5 separate regions of the Homo sapiens genome follow, and all the other regions are linked to region 1. Evidence: promoter capture Hi-C in 16 types of primary human blood cells and fetal thymus (Javierre and others, 2016). All regions are on one chromosome and are shown on one strand. The core of a region is centred on a gene start or on the middle of the fragment in contact, and the rest is flanking DNA. Distances in the headings are between cores, read along the strand shown. Region 1 holds the start of RALGAPA1 (Ral GTPase activating protein catalytic subunit alpha 1). Region 2 overlaps SPTSSA (serine palmitoyltransferase small subunit A). Region 3 holds the start of EAPP (E2F associated phosphoprotein). Region 4 holds the start of SNX6 (sorting nexin 6). Region 5 holds the start of CFL2 (cofilin 2).

Region 1 (2,829 bases), core at 240-2,739:
TCTATGTAATTCTAAAGATCATGCTTGAAAACATTGTATTATTGCCTAAATTTCACGAAACTGTGAGGGACAGACCTTATTTTGATTTTATTAATAAGAAAACTGATGCTGAGAGGAACTAGAACTAAAATCTCTTGAACAATCCCCTTATTTTTCTATTATGTTATAAGCTTCCTCAAAACATGTATGGCTTGTAAGTTTGATGATACAAACAAACCCTACATGTAGAAACTGAATAAATTTTTTGTACTTTAAAAAATATAGGATTGTTGTTGAAACAAACTACCATTAAGCAAAGCACTATATTTTAACATAATTTTGGCAAATGTCTTACATCTCTCTTCTTTGCTGATTTTGTTATTTTTCTATGTTAATCACATATTTCATTGGACAAGTCTATTGCTATGGGTGAGAACATAGAAGGAAACAGTTCAAACAAGCAAACTCACTCTTTATCAAATTATTTTGTGGAGGAAATGTTCCTGGCCAGGCGCAGTGGCCTCACGCCTGTAATCCCAGCAGTTTGGTAGGCTGAGGCGGGCGGATCACTTGAGTCTAGGAGTTTTAGACCAGTTTGGGCAAAATGGCGAAACCCCGTCTCTACAAAAAACACAAAAATTAGCTGGATGTGGTGGCGCGCACCTGTGGTCCCAGCTACTCGGTAGGCTGAGGTGGGAGCATCACCTGAGCCTGGGAGTTCGAGGCTTCAGTGAGCTGAGATCACACCACTGCACTTCTGCCTGGGACACAGAGACCCTGTCTGGAAAGAAAAGGAAAAAGGAAAAAAAAAAAAAGGGTTCCAATAAAAATTTCAATTTATGTCATTCAGAATTTCACGGATTTTTTTCAGCTATTGCAGATTCTTCAGATGACTCCATCAATGTAATAAGAACCTTGAATTCTTCTTTGCAGAGGAAAAACTGACAATATATTCATCTTTATGTGGGGTGCAGATGGGGAAAAGATTTTTAAAAGCACAATAGAAAAGGAAAGCAAGATTACTTTTATTTAAAAAACCTAGATACCTCTGCTTAAGCCTTTCTGTTGTCAAGTTGTTTGCAGCAAAAAACAGGGATATTGCAAATAGAAAAAATATGAAAGAAATCACATACATAGTGCAGGAAATATTATTAGTAATAGATTTAGGACAGAATAAATTGCCCAACTGTAACTTCGTTTATCTTTCTGCTAGAGGATCTGGTGGCCACAACAACTTATGCACATTTTCAAAGATAAATCATGGACATATTTAATAAAGATTACTTCTCTTTGCTTATTACTATCATTTGGCTTACAATGGAGCACGCAGTAACTACCTTCCTTGCCTTTCTTGAGATTCTCCTTTGGCTGCTTACACAGGAAACCAAGGCGGGGAGTGCCACGGGTGATCTCATGCTGGCATGACGTCAAGAACTCTTGACGTCAGAAGGCGGTTGCCACGGACACCGTTCGCCACCGACGGCAGAGTCGTGAAACCCCATCACTACCACACTCGTCTCCGTTTCGGCCTCTGCAGGGTGTAAGCTGCTAAAGAAGCTTCAACCTTAAGGGGGCCTCAGGGAGAGAGTTGTGCTCCTGCCGCCGAGAGCTCCACCTTCGTGGCTCTGGGTCCGGGGCCCCGGCCTGTGGCGGCGAGCGGCGGCCGCTGGAGACGAGCGGCGGCGGCAGGCGGCCAGCCCGGGTCTGCCTCGCTCCGTGCAGGGCCGGGAGAGGGATCCGCCATATTGGAGCTGGGGCCGAAGGTGCCTTGGAGCCGCGGCGCGAGGCGGGTGGAGGTGGCGGCCCTGGCCTGGATCGGGAAGGAGTCGGCTCTGCCCTGGCCCGCAAGGCTGGGGAGCTAATGAGCCTCTCTGGCTAGTCTCCTCCCCGTCCACTCCCTCCACTTTCTGCCGCCGGGACCCGGCTGGGAGCCGGCTGTGGCAGTGGCAGTGGCAGTGGCAGCGACAGGATGTTCTCCAAGAAGCCGCACGGGGACGTGAAGAAGTCCACCCAGAAGGTGCTAGACACCAAGAAGGACGCACTGACTCGCCTCAAGCACCTGCGCATCGTCATCGGTGAGGAGCGAGGGGTGGCAGCGCCGAGGCCTGGGTTGCCCGGCCTTCCCTCTCCTGGGAGCCCCTGCGGACTCTCTCTCGGGACCTGGCGCGGTGCAGGAGAGGGCAAATCGTAGCCTCTGCGGAGACGCGGGAGGGTGAATAATTCGGAGAAGCGAAAACTTGGCAGTTGGCAGCACTGATTACTGTTAACACAGTAATCTAATTTTGAGTTAATAGTCTGAACTTATTTTTTAAAATTGGTATTACTCTAAAAACTTAGATCTTTAAGACTTTGTGGGGAGACCTGGCGTTGTGGATAATGGTGTTTATAGGATATGTTTGCCAGATGACTACTGCCAACCCCACCCAAGTAAAAAGAAAAATAAAATCCTCTCTCAGACAATATAAACCTTAATCTTTCAAGTTTCTTGGCAGATGAAGACAAGGAGGTAGCAGTTACACCTCTTTGGGAAGTGGGCGGTTCCCAAAAAGCTGTGGGAAGGAGCCCCGCCCTTTTGTTAATGCACCTTGTTCATCACTAGTCATTTAGAGGGAGAACTATTATAGGTAGTTTAACTCATCCTTTGCTTCTCGAGAATTGTATATAATTCTATTTTTAATTAAAAATATTTTTTTTATCGTCTGCCCTTAAGTTCTGTTTTGCTGGTAGACCAAACAGTGCTCTAAGTTTTGAATATAATGTTAATCGACTCTTTTGAATACTTAGTCATTTGGTAGGCTGATAAAGGCTGTAATAATACTTATGGAACATCTGGTCCAGTAGTTGGATTTT
Region 2 (2,829 bases), core at 168-2,667, 1.4 Mb after region 1:
ATTGGCTTTTGGTTTGTCAAGGAATATTTGAACTTTTTCCATGTGCAGACATGTTTCTATCTTACAGAGAAATGGGACATGACACCTGCATTAAGACAAAAGGTAACAATAAAGAAGAATCTGATAAGTGCCAATTAGTATTACAGTATATACTACAAAAGGAGACCTACCATAGACTGAGAACCACTGACCTTATCTCAGGAGGAGACATTTTTAACATACCTTTCAAAAGTATCCTTTCCCTACTGGCATCCCAAGGTGGGAAAGAAAAGACCAGGTTTTGTAACCAAGATAGGCTTTTGTAACAGTGAGACACGCCCTGAAGTACCTCACTTGGATAACGTTGTAACCATTCCTGTTGAGAGTTGAGAAAATTAAAAATAGATTGTTAAAATAATTTGAATCAACTTTGGGAGGCTGAGGTGGCTGGATCACCTGAGGTCAAGAGTTCAAGGCCAGCTCGGCCAGCATGGTGAATTCTTGTCTCTACTAAAAATAAAAAATTAGTGGGGCATGGTGGCTGGCGCCTGTAGTCCCAGCTACATGGGAGGCTGAGGCAGGAGAATTGCTTGAACCTAAGAAGTGGAGGTTGCAGTGAGCCAAGATTGTGCCATTGTACTCCAGCCTGGGCAACAGAGCAAATGCTCCGTCTCAAAATAATAATAATAATAATAGTAATAATAATAATAATAATAATAATTTGAATCAGAAGTGTGCTATTTTAATCTTTTTTCTTTTCTTTTTTTTTTTGAGATGGAGTCTCGCTGTGTTGCCCAGGCTGGAGTGCAGTGGCGCGATCTTGGCTCGCTGCAACCTCTGCCTCCTGGATTCAAGCAATTGTTCCGCCTTGCCCTCCCGAGTAGCTGGGACTACAGGTGTGTGCCACCACGCCCGGCTAATTTTTATATTTTTTAGTAGAGACAAGATTTCACCATGTTGGCCAGGCTGGTCTTGAACTTCTGTCCTCAGGTGATCTGCCTGCCTCAGCCTCCCAAAGTGCTGGGATTACAGGCATGAGCTACCGCGCCTGGCCTAATCTTGTTTTATTCATTAAAAAATAAAGTCATATTAGTCTATAATCACTGGGCTATATTTGCCCATCTCTTTGCTGCTGATGATGTTTCCATGGCATGTTATTTTCAGCAAAATGTGGGCAGTTTTTTGGTTTATGTTAGGAATTAGATTCACCCTGAAAGACAGTTCATGTGTCTTGAAAACATTTTTTTCCCACTTTTAAACCACAGTGCTGGGCACACAAATAATGCTTAAAAAACAGTTGTTTATATATTGATTTGTTATTTTATTTTATTGATTTATTATTTTTTTGAGATAGGGTTTTGCACTTGTTGCCCAGGCTGGAGTGCAATGACGCGATCTCAGCTCACTGCAATCTCTGCCTCCAGGGTTCAAGTGATACTTCTGCCTCAGCCTCCCAAGTAGCTGGGATAACAGGCACCCACCACCACGCCTGGCTAATTTTTTGTTTTTTTAGTAGAGACGGGGTTTCACCATGTTAGCCGGATGGTCTCGATCTCCTGACCTCGTGATCCGCCTGCCTCCGCCTCCCAAAGTGCTGGGATTATAGGTGTGAGCCACCGCGCCCAGCCACACATTTTAAGCTGTATGTTATTTTCAGTAGCAACTAAATTATTTTCTTAGATTTTTGCTGTATCCTCAGATACTTACAACTTAGAATTAAAAAGGACTTTTTTTTTTTGAGATGGAGTCTTGTTCTGTTGCCCAGGCTGGAGTACACTGGCATGATCTCAGCTCACTGCAACCTCTGCCTCCTGGGTTCAAGCAATCCTCATTCCTCAGCCTCCTGAATAGCTAGGATTACAGTTGCACGCCACCATGCCCAGGTAATTTTTGTATTTTTAGTGGAGACGGGGTTTCACCATGTTGGCCAGGCTGTTCTTGAACTCCTGACCTCACGTGATCCTCTCCCCTCAGCTTCCCAAAGTGCTGGGATTACAGGTGTGAGCCACCGCGCCTGGCCTAAAAGGACTTTTTTTGCATCTCAATATACTAATTAAAGTATTTGGGAGTTTGGAAAATATGAATTTTAAGTTGTAAATAAAATAGATTATACATCCTTATGGTTGAAAACACAAAAGATACAAAAAGGTAGTTGGTGACACAGTCTTCCTTCCACCCCTGCCTCGGCCACCCTGGGACAACCAGTGTCAGCAGTTTCCTATGCATCTCTCCTGAGATATTCTGTGAATATATAAAAAATATACTCCTTTTTTTTTTCTTTTTTTGAGACAGTTTCGCTCTTTTCCTCAGGCTAGAGTGCAGTGGTGCGAACTTGGCTCCTTGCAACCTTTGCCTTCTGGTTGCAAGCGATTCTCTTGCATCAGCCTCCCCAGTAGCTGGGATTACAGGTGCCCGCCGCCATACCCTGTTGATTTTTTGTATTTTTAGTAGAGATGGGGTTTCACCATGTTAGCCAGGGTGGTCTCAAACTCCCAACCTCGTGATCCGCCCACCTCGGCCTCCCAAAATGCTGGGATTACAGGTGTGAGCCACCTAGCCCGGCTCCTATTTTTTTTTTTTCTCAAGATGGAGTCTTGATCTGTTACCTAGGCTGGAGTGCAGTGGCGCAATCTTGGGTCACTGTAGCCTCCGCCTCCTGGGTTCAAGCAATTCTCCTGCCTCAGCCTCACGAGTAGCTGGGATTACAGGTGCCTGCCACCACACCCGGCTGATTTTTGTATTTTTAGTAGAGAAGGGGATTTACTATGTTGGCCAGCCTGGTCTCGAACTCCTGACCTCAGGTGACCCACCCACCTTGGCCTCCCAAAGTTCTGGGATTACAGGCATGAG
Region 3 (2,829 bases), core at 120-2,619, 1.3 Mb after region 1:
CCTCGGTGCTGTCGGTCTGCGCGGGCGCGCAAGGGGGACTGGGACGTTCAGGCGGAAGTGGCGTCAGGGGCGCTTTAGGGACTGGACTTGCAGTGTAAACAGAGACGCTGCAAATTGCTTGTGGACGGTGTAGGCCGCTGCAGGCCACCATGAACCGGCTTCCGGATGACTACGACCCCTACGCGGTTGAAGAGCCTAGCGACGAGGAGCCGGCTTTGAGCAGGTGGGCTCCCGCCCCACCCTGGCCCCCGAGGATTTGGGTCGAGGCCTGGCTTTGGTCGCCTCCATTCGTTGCGCCTGCCGAGCCTACGCAGACCCTAGCGGCTCGGGAGCCTGTCGTGCCTGTTACTTGTGCGAAGCCAAAGGGCTTTCCTGATGGGGTCGCGCAGTCCCGGGGGGAGGCGGTGCCGATGTCGCCTGTAGGAAGAGGGATATTCCGGAATCACGGGGGACCGCGTGTAAATCTTCAAAAGCAATGAGATCGAAACCTGTCTCTACACCTTAGTAGCAGAGTGACGGAAGGCAAGTCAGTTATCCTCGATTACTCACCTGTAAAATTGAACTATAATAACATAATTGTATAACCTATATAACATAGTATAACACACTATGTTTGTTGTGAGGCTCACAGGACTTAATGTGAAGTGTCCATCTTGAAGACTAAACTGCCATAAACAGAAATAAGGGAATATTGAACAGCCTTTTTTATTTTTATTTTTTGACAGGGACTGTTGTATGCTCGCTCTGAGCTACAGAGATAAATCATAAGGTCCTTGTCTTCCAGAGGCTTATAGTATAATAAGGGTAATAAGATAAAGTATATATTTCTTGGCAGAGCATTGTAGAGAATATTGACCTGAGATAGGCACAGAAGAAGGTTCGTGGGATTTCCAGAAGGGTGGGCTTTATTCTACCAGGGAAACTTGAAGCTGTTTTGCCGAGATATTTCCACACAAATTTAGTTATTTCTTAAGCTGTCAGCAGATCCTATTCTTAAACTTTAAAACATTCATTCTGCCTAAAGAAGCTTTCTGTAAAGCCATGCTTTCATTAACAACTTTGGCTGGGTGTGGTGGCCCATGCCTGTAATCCCAGGACTTTGGGAGTCTGAGGCGAGAGAATCTCTTAAGCCTGGTAGTAAAGGAACAGCCTGGGCAACATAGTGAGACCTCATTTCTTAAAAAAAAAAAAAATCAAAAGAACAATGTTTCCTCATATTGTCATGGGGAGACATTGGATGCATGGGAAATCAGACTGCTGTTAAGATTTCTTTTGTTGGGAGTGAGGATAGATACCAGGATTCCCTGTGAAAAAGAGTTTCAGTTAATGGGTCCTGTCTGTGAAAGGAGGTATGTATATATGTATGTCTCAATTATTTATTTATTTATTTATTTATTTTGAGACAGAGTCTCACTCTGTCAGCCAGGCTGGAGTGCACTGGTGCAATCTTGGCTCACTGTAGCCTCCACCTCCTGGGTTCCAGCAATTCTCCTGCCTCAGCCTCCTGGGTAGCTGGGATTACAGGCATGCGCTACCACACCTGGCTTATTTTTTGTATTTTTCGTAGAGATGGGTTTTCACCACGTTGGCCAGGCTGGTCTTGAACTCCTGACCTTAGGCAATCTGCCTGCGTCGGGCTCCCAAAGTGCTAGGATTACAGGCCTGAGCCACGGAGCCAGGACTGTTGTATCATTTTTTTAAGGAAGCTTTATAATTCTGTGACAGTTGCCACTGGTAAGGTAACTGTAAAGATAAATATTATAAAAACAAAACAATGTTATCAGACAGTATTGCCTGTTGTAGGCTCTGAGCCAAATGGTTATTATTTTAAAAAGGGAGATTAGTGTTAGAGAGGTGTCTGTCAGTATTTAATTTTACACTGTTTATAAACTAATACATTGTAGCCTGTTAACTGTTTCACGGTAGCTGACCGAAGACATGAGACTCCTGGGTCAAAGATAAGACTACACATAGCACAGCAAGCAGCATGAGCATCATGTTTGTGTGGCTTGCTCTTGCTTGTCAACCCTACAGGTATTACGCTGAGGGTCCTAGAAGAATGCTGCACATTCAGTGGGTTGGCATCGTGGCTAAAGACTACTTGAGCTTGGAGAATCCACCTCTTTCATAGAAGACAGTAAATACATCTGCTCTTTGTCCTGGAAGGAGACATTATCTCATTCCTCAAGGTTGTTGTTCGCTGCAAACACAATCCTGAGAAATGGCTGGAGTGAACAGTGGTCAGAACCTTGCATTCTTGGCATACTTAACTTGCATATCTAGGGTCCATGATGTATGACTGCCTTTCTCAGCAGTGCTGAAAACTGAGACTTTGGTTGAGATAATGACAAGGATTGAAGAAAATTTGTAGAAAAAATAGCTCTCACTTTGTGATTCAGTTTTTAAAAATTAAACATTTTATTTTGAAGTTTTCGTAGATTCACATTCAGTTATAAGAAATAATACAGGTCTGGTGCAGTGGCTCACATCTGTAATCCCAGCACTTTGGAAGGCCAAGGCAGGAGAATCACTTGAGCTCAAGAGTTCAAGACCAGCCTGAGCAACATGATGAAATCATGTCTTTACTGAAAATACAAAAAATTAGCTGGTATGGTGGTGCATATCTGTGGTCCCAGCTACTCAGGAGGGTGAGGCGGTTGGTTGGCTTGAGCCTGGGAGGCGGAAGTTTCAGTGAGCCAAGATGGCACCATTGCACTCCAGCCTGGGCAACACAGGGAGACCCCCATCTCAAAAAATAAAAAATAATAAAAAAAAAAGAAATAATACAGAGAGATCCTGTGTACTCTTTCCCCAGTTTCCTCCAGTGTT
Region 4 (2,829 bases), core at 215-2,714, 1.2 Mb after region 1:
TTGCTGTGAGAACTGGAAAAATTGGACTAATTAAAGAGGTATGGGCTGGGCGCAGTGGCTCACACCTGTAATCCCAGCACTTTGGGAGGTCGAGGCGGGCGGATCATGAGGTCAGGAGATCAAGACCTTCCTGGCTAACATGGTGAAATCCTGTCCTACTAAAAATACAAAAAAATTAGCCGGGTGTGGTGGCACACACCTGTAGTCCCAGCTACTCGGGAGGCTGAGGCAGGAGAATGGCGTGAACCCTGGAGGTGGAGCTTACAGTGAGCCGAGATCGCACCACTGCACTCCAGCCTGGGCGACAGAGCGAGACTCTGTCTCAAAAAAAAAAAAAAAAGAGGTATGAAGGACAATCAATTGTAGAAGCCATAGGATTTGGTTGGATATGAGGAGTAAGGGAGATAAGGATTTATTTCTTTCTTTTTTTGAGACAGAGTCTTGCTCTGTTGCCCAGGCTGGAGTGCAGTGGTGCAATCTCGGCTCACTGCAACCTCTGCCTTCCAGGTTCAAGCGATTCTTTTGCTTCAGCCTCCCAAGTAGCTGAGATTACAGGCACGCGCCACCACGCCCGGCTAATTTTTGTATTTTTAGTAGAGACGGGGTTTCACCATGTTAGCCAGGATGGTCTCAAACTCCTGACCTCAGGTGATCCGCCCGCCTTGGCCTCCCAAAGTGCTGGAATTAGAGACGTGAGCCACAGCGCCCGGCCCCTAGAGTACGGATTTCAATGGGTTAAGGGTTTCTGGTCTGAACATCTGAAGATGCCTTTCCTTAACTGAATGCAAGCTCAGGAACGTGTAGATTCTAGGATTAAGTATGATTTTCTCCCGTTATTTGAAATGCCTGTGGATCCCGTGTGATGCTAACCACCTGGACAGTTAGAGTAGGTGTGGGGAAATTTCTTCTAACAAAGGAAAGGAATATTTTTGTAATGAAAACAGCTCATTTTTATAGTTCGCAACCATTAGTGCCCCAAACTCTGAGGTAGTTATTACCTCGCCAGCGGTAAAAGCTTGATTATAGTCCCTGATTACCGACTGTGTGAAGGTCCTTGTTTCCAGCAACTTCCATAGGCAAAATGATATTAATTGTGATTAATTATCGTGTGGCATAATACAAAGACCAGATGATGTATTATGGCTTCCGGAGGGCGCCTGCATCGTTTTTCGCTGGAGCCCTCGGGGCAGGGGAACTGGAGAGCTCCCTGGGTGGCCTTTGGCCCTTCCCTGGTCAGAGCCCGCCAGCTGCGAGGTGCCCCCAGCCATGAGGTCTGGGTCTTCAGGCTCTCCCGACTTCGGTGCCTTGACCTTGGGCAGAAGGCCCTGTTAACCTTCCTCGCTCACGGACTCGAGCGACCAGCGCCGGGGACGGGGCGGGCCGTCCTTAGGCCCCGCCCCTTCGCCTCCGCCCCGCCCCGCCCCGCTCCTGGCCGCCGGCTCCCTCCGGCAGCAGGGAGATGCGCGCCTGCGCCGGCCCTCGCCTCGGAGCAGCCATGATGGTGGGTGTTCTCCGCGGCGCCGAGTCCCGGGAGCGCGGTGGGGGCAGCGGGCGCGGGGCGGGCGCGGGGACCGCGCCAGCCTGTCACTAATGTCTCCCTTTGTGTCTCCCCCATCTCATCCTTTTCCCCGGCGCGCCGTGCCCGCCGACCCCACAGGAAGGCCTGGACGACGGCCCGGACTTCCTCTCAGAAGAGGACCGCGGAGTAAGTTCTGCCTTCCTTTCGCTCGCGGGACCCTGGACCCTCCTTCCCCATCCTGGGTCCCCGGGTGTGGTACGGGGATGGGTCCCCAGCCGCGCGGCACTCCCTCCCCGTAGTCCTCCTTTCGGTTTCCTCGCTGCACCGCGCCCCACCCTCCCGCAGCCCTTCCTCCCTAGGGGCCGCTCGGCTCCGATTCCCGGGGACCCGCGGCCGCTTTCTTGTCCCCCGCCGCTGTTCGGGCCTTCTGGTGGACCTCCACTCCCACGCGGGGCGGGGTGCAGGTGGCGAAGTGGAAATGGAGGCGGGAGATGGAACGCCCCCACCCTCCCTCGACACTTTGGGGCCATGAAAACCCATTCTCGGACCTTCCCAGCGGCACCCTCAATTTTCACCCGGTGTGGACATCTCGAACTTGCTCCCGCCCACCCTTCTGTCTCTCTCAAATAGTACAGGTGTAGTCTACATTACCATTTTGCAAGGATTTTTATAGTAGCCGAATCAACTCCTGTCCAGTGCCCTACTAGATTATGCAAAGTGCAGGTAGCCCATGGTATCTTTACTTTTTCTAATATCCAACAAATCCTGTCTTTGGCAGGATTTCCTTGGTGTTTTATTCCCCCTTAGCTTCTTTGAGGTATATTGACAAATACTGTTGATAATTGTATATACTTAAGGTATACATTATATTTTAATACACGAATACATTGTGAAATGAGTACCAAAATCAACCTGACATATCCATCACCTCACCTAGTTACCATTTTTTTTTGTGTGAGAACATTTGAGATCTAAGCAAATTTCAAGTATGTACCCTTTGACCAACATCGACGCTCCACCCACTCACCCCCCACATACACACTCCGCCAGGCCTTTGATAACCTCCATTCTGCCCTTGGTGTTCTGAGGTTAGTTGCATTCTACTTCAGAAAGAGCCTTCCGGGCTCTGATTCCTCCCTCCCACCCCACTCTCCACCCCCTTTTTCCTTGGCTGAAGGGTGGTAATCTTTATAGTCCCTTGTACAAGTGAGCACTTGGAAAATGTTGATATATGATAATTACCATTCAGCAAGGTTCCATGGTTCCTTCACATTTCACAGCCTGCACTTCAGTTTTCCCTTTTGCTTTTT
Region 5 (2,829 bases), core at 223-2,722, 1.1 Mb after region 1:
GGGTGACTAGCATCTTTGGAATCCCCAGCTTTGGTGGGTAAGGTTCTGACACCCACTTTAGGCCCCAGTGTCATCAGACCTGGTCTCTGCTGGGGCTGCTGCAAATCTCTGAGGTTGGGAAGGGAAGGTAACCGCAAGATGAAGCGAACAGGAATTTGCTAATACCTACACATAGCAGATGATCAGAGCTCTGGAGAGACATTCTCCATGACTTCTTGGAAGTTCAACAGATAAAGTGAAAGGTTCCATAAATTGTAATGTACCAGCTAGATATAAAGTATTATCCACTTGCTTGGGATTCATGCTTAGACATTGGGAAATCCCTTCTCAATTTTTGTCTCTAAACGAAGTCTATCTTCCAATTAAGAAAACAAACCCAAGATATAGACAGAAAAATAGGTCTGTTTCAATGCCTAGCATGTTCCATTTAAAATACAGTAAATTTGGGCTGAAAGAACTTATCACGCAATCTAGGGCAAACACCATCTCATGACTTTCCTGCCTAACCTCAATCCTGAGACCACCAAAAACACACCATTTCCTACTGAACATTGATATACTCAGAAACTGAAATCTAAAGCTGGAAAGGGCCTTAACGATAATTTAATAACAGTTTGTTTTACACATGAAGAACCCTGAGGTATGGAGGAGTTAAGATTAAAAAAAGAGAAACTGCCTTGGCGCAGTTATATGGGCTTTGCTAGAAGAGGCTGCGTCGGCTTATTTGATATCAGCTGTCATAGCTGGAGCTTCATGAAATCTCTAAGAGAGAGTACAATCCATTTCCTATGAAGTCTAAAATGTAAAAGGATATTACTAAGGAATGCTACCACGTAATTTTTTAATCATAATTATTATTTCAACCAGAGTTTTGAAAAGTGATTTACCAACACTGCGTATCATTTTGTTTTTGCTAAGTACTATCAACTGGAGCAATCTCGTGTAGTATTTATTCTCATTTATCTCTAAACAACTGGGGGTTTTCCAAAAAGACTCAAAATGTCGAAATCCAGCCTCTTTCGGGAAAACCACAGGTAAATAAGGAAAGACACCTTCGCAGGAGTTCCCCTCACACGCACCCACCCCTGGCGCAGGGCCCTACGGAGGCGGTGGAAACGCCCCTCTGGGAGCCCAGCACTCTCTCCCACCGGCTTGACGGGTGATGCTCGGGGGCTGGAGGCGGCTCTGCCAGGCTCCCGGGCTCCGCTACCACCGCGTCGCCCCCCCCGGCCTGCAGGGCTCGCGCTCTGAGGTCAGGCCGAGGACGCGGACAGCCGGGGAGCCGGGGCCGCGAGACAGAAGGGCCGGCCTGGGAGCGGGTGGCGCCGGCTGGGGACCAGGCGTGCCCACGTGACCGCCCCGCCCGCTGCCTGCGGCCCGCCGAGCCCCGCCACCTCCCTCGGGCTGCAGCTCCCGGCGTGCCCCGCACTCTCCGCTGCCCACCCGCTCGCCCGCCCCTCCTTCTCCTCCCAGTGCCACAGAGCCGAAGCCCGAGCTGCCGCCGCAGCCACAGCCGAGGGCACTATGGTAAGACGAGCGCGCTGGCCGGGAGGCCGCGGCGAGGCGAGAAAAGCCCCCCGCACGGCCCCGGGAGTGAGGCCGCCATTTTAACCTGATTTTGGCCTCCAAGGTGGGCGCTTCTGCTCTGCGGCTCCGCTGCTCTCCAGCCGACCGGCCTGCCCTCCGGCCGTCAGGCCCTGCCCTGCTGCTCTTTGGATTTTGGGGGGCGGGGAGGGCCCGGGCGTCGGCGCAGGTTGGGGGTCGGGGCCGGGCGGGCGGGGGCGCGAGAGGGTCTGCGGACTGCAGCCGCTCGCGCCGCCTTTGCCCTTCGCTTCCTAATTTTACTTAACACGCGAGGCTTTAAAATTGGTACGTGCTGCGAACGCTGTGTGGGTCAGGGTCTGGACGGCCTGTAATAAAACCCTTACGGGGAGATTAAGGAAGAGGGAAAACACTTTTTAAAATGCTTTCTCGCCGTAAAAGCTTTTACACTCGATCAGTTAGTTTTGGAGTGTCTGCATGTGAGCTGTGTGTGGGCCGTGGGCGGTTTGGAGTTTACACTTGATTCTCTTTCCTTATGAGGAAACGTCAGTGGCTAGGATGACTTTAAAGAAAAAAATAGTAGAAGCATTAACTGAAATCCAAAAGTGTTTTTTTAAGGCCAGCCGAGTTGACACAATACAGAAGGTATTTTTGCTGCCACTCCTGAAGCTCTGACATCACCCAGTGAAATAGGAAACATTTCAGGGATGGGACAACTTGTATTTGTCCCTTTCGCTTCCACGTCCAAACCCCTTTAAGAAGGATGAATGGGCAGGATGAGTTAGACTCCTTCGCTGTATCGTCTACTGATTCTTAAAATGTGACAAATCTGATTGGACGACTTACATGGTACGGTGCAATTTTTGATGTCCAGACTAAAGTGAGTCTTCTCTAGGCAAACAGTAATTTTGGTTAAAACCAAAATACGTGTTCTGAATTACTGTTCTGTGTTTATTTTCAGGCTTCTGGAGTTACAGTGAATGATGAAGTCATCAAAGTTTTTAATGATATGAAAGTAAGGAAATCTTCTACACAAGAGGAGATCAAAAAGAGAAAGAAAGCAGTTCTCTTCTGTTTAAGCGATGACAAAAGACAAATAATTGTAGAGGAAGCAAAGCAGATCTTGGTGGGTGACATTGGTGATACTGTAGAGGACCCCTACACATCTTTTGTGAAGTTGCTACCTCTGAATGATTGCCGATATGCTTTGTACGATGCCACATACGAAACAAAAGAGTCTAAGAAAGAAGACCTAGTATTTATATTCTGGTGTGTAAAAACAAAAGA

What was found. Contacts are between HindIII fragments. The CHiCAGO score rates a contact against its expected background, and 5 or more counts as called.
Region 2: a fragment that was not itself captured here is called in contact with the fragment with the promoter of RALGAPA1 in region 1 in 1 of 17 cell types (total B cells); the score reaches 5.3 in total B cells.
Region 3: a contact is called between a fragment that was not itself captured here and the fragment with the promoter of RALGAPA1 in region 1, in 8 of 17 cell types (naive CD4 T cells, fetal thymus, total B cells and 5 more). The highest score is 13.7, in naive CD4 T cells.
Region 4: the fragment with the promoter of SNX6 here is called in contact with the fragment with the promoter of RALGAPA1 in region 1 in 9 of 17 cell types (naive B cells, naive CD8 T cells, total CD8 T cells and 6 more); the score reaches 16.9 in naive B cells.
Region 5: the fragment with the promoter of CFL2 here is called in contact with the fragment with the promoter of RALGAPA1 in region 1 in 6 of 17 cell types (total B cells, total CD8 T cells, fetal thymus and 3 more); the score reaches 9.8 in total B cells.

What each region holds. Positions count from the first base shown.
Region 1 is chr14:35,807,955-35,810,783 of GRCh38, reverse strand. It overlaps RALGAPA1 (Ral GTPase activating protein catalytic subunit alpha 1), which reads left to right and starts at 1,489. Exons shown (of 42, transcript NM_001346249.2): 1 at 1,489-2,054. The coding sequence starts at 1,949. RefSeq lists enhancers at 1,343-1,442, 1,279-1,839 and a silencer at 1,523-1,762. The HindIII fragment of the contact is 1,366 bases long and covers 173-1,538 here.
Region 2 is chr14:34,454,820-34,457,648 of GRCh38, reverse strand. The region is part of intron 1 of SPTSSA (serine palmitoyltransferase small subunit A); the gene reads left to right. Among named protein-coding and RNA genes, the nearest start is that of SPTSSA, 6.0 kb to the left of the region's middle. The HindIII fragment of the contact is 7,519 bases long and covers 1-2,829 here.
Region 3 is chr14:34,536,949-34,539,777 of GRCh38, reverse strand. EAPP (E2F associated phosphoprotein) reads left to right here and starts at 77. Exons shown (of 6, transcript NM_018453.4): 1 at 77-223. The coding sequence starts at 150. LOC105370447 (a long non-coding RNA gene) reads right to left here and starts at 29. Exons shown (of 2, transcript XR_943739.1): 1 at 1-29. RefSeq lists enhancers at 140-299, 1-874 and a silencer at 1,941-2,235. The HindIII fragment of the contact is 679 bases long and covers 1,030-1,708 here.
Region 4 is chr14:34,628,783-34,631,611 of GRCh38, reverse strand. SNX6 (sorting nexin 6) reads left to right here and starts at 1,464. Exons shown (of 14, transcript NM_152233.4): 1 at 1,464-1,501; 2 at 1,658-1,705. The coding sequence starts at 1,496. RefSeq lists an enhancer at 1,141-1,190 and a silencer at 1,361-1,710. The HindIII fragment of the contact is 3,459 bases long and covers 1,018-2,829 here.
Region 5 is chr14:34,713,236-34,716,064 of GRCh38, reverse strand. It overlaps CFL2 (cofilin 2), which reads left to right and starts at 1,472. Exons shown (of 4, transcript NM_138638.5): 1 at 1,472-1,527; 2 at 2,504-2,811. The coding sequence starts at 1,525. RefSeq lists silencers at 1,036-1,625, 1,716-1,775. The HindIII fragment of the contact is 2,283 bases long and covers 1-1,985 here.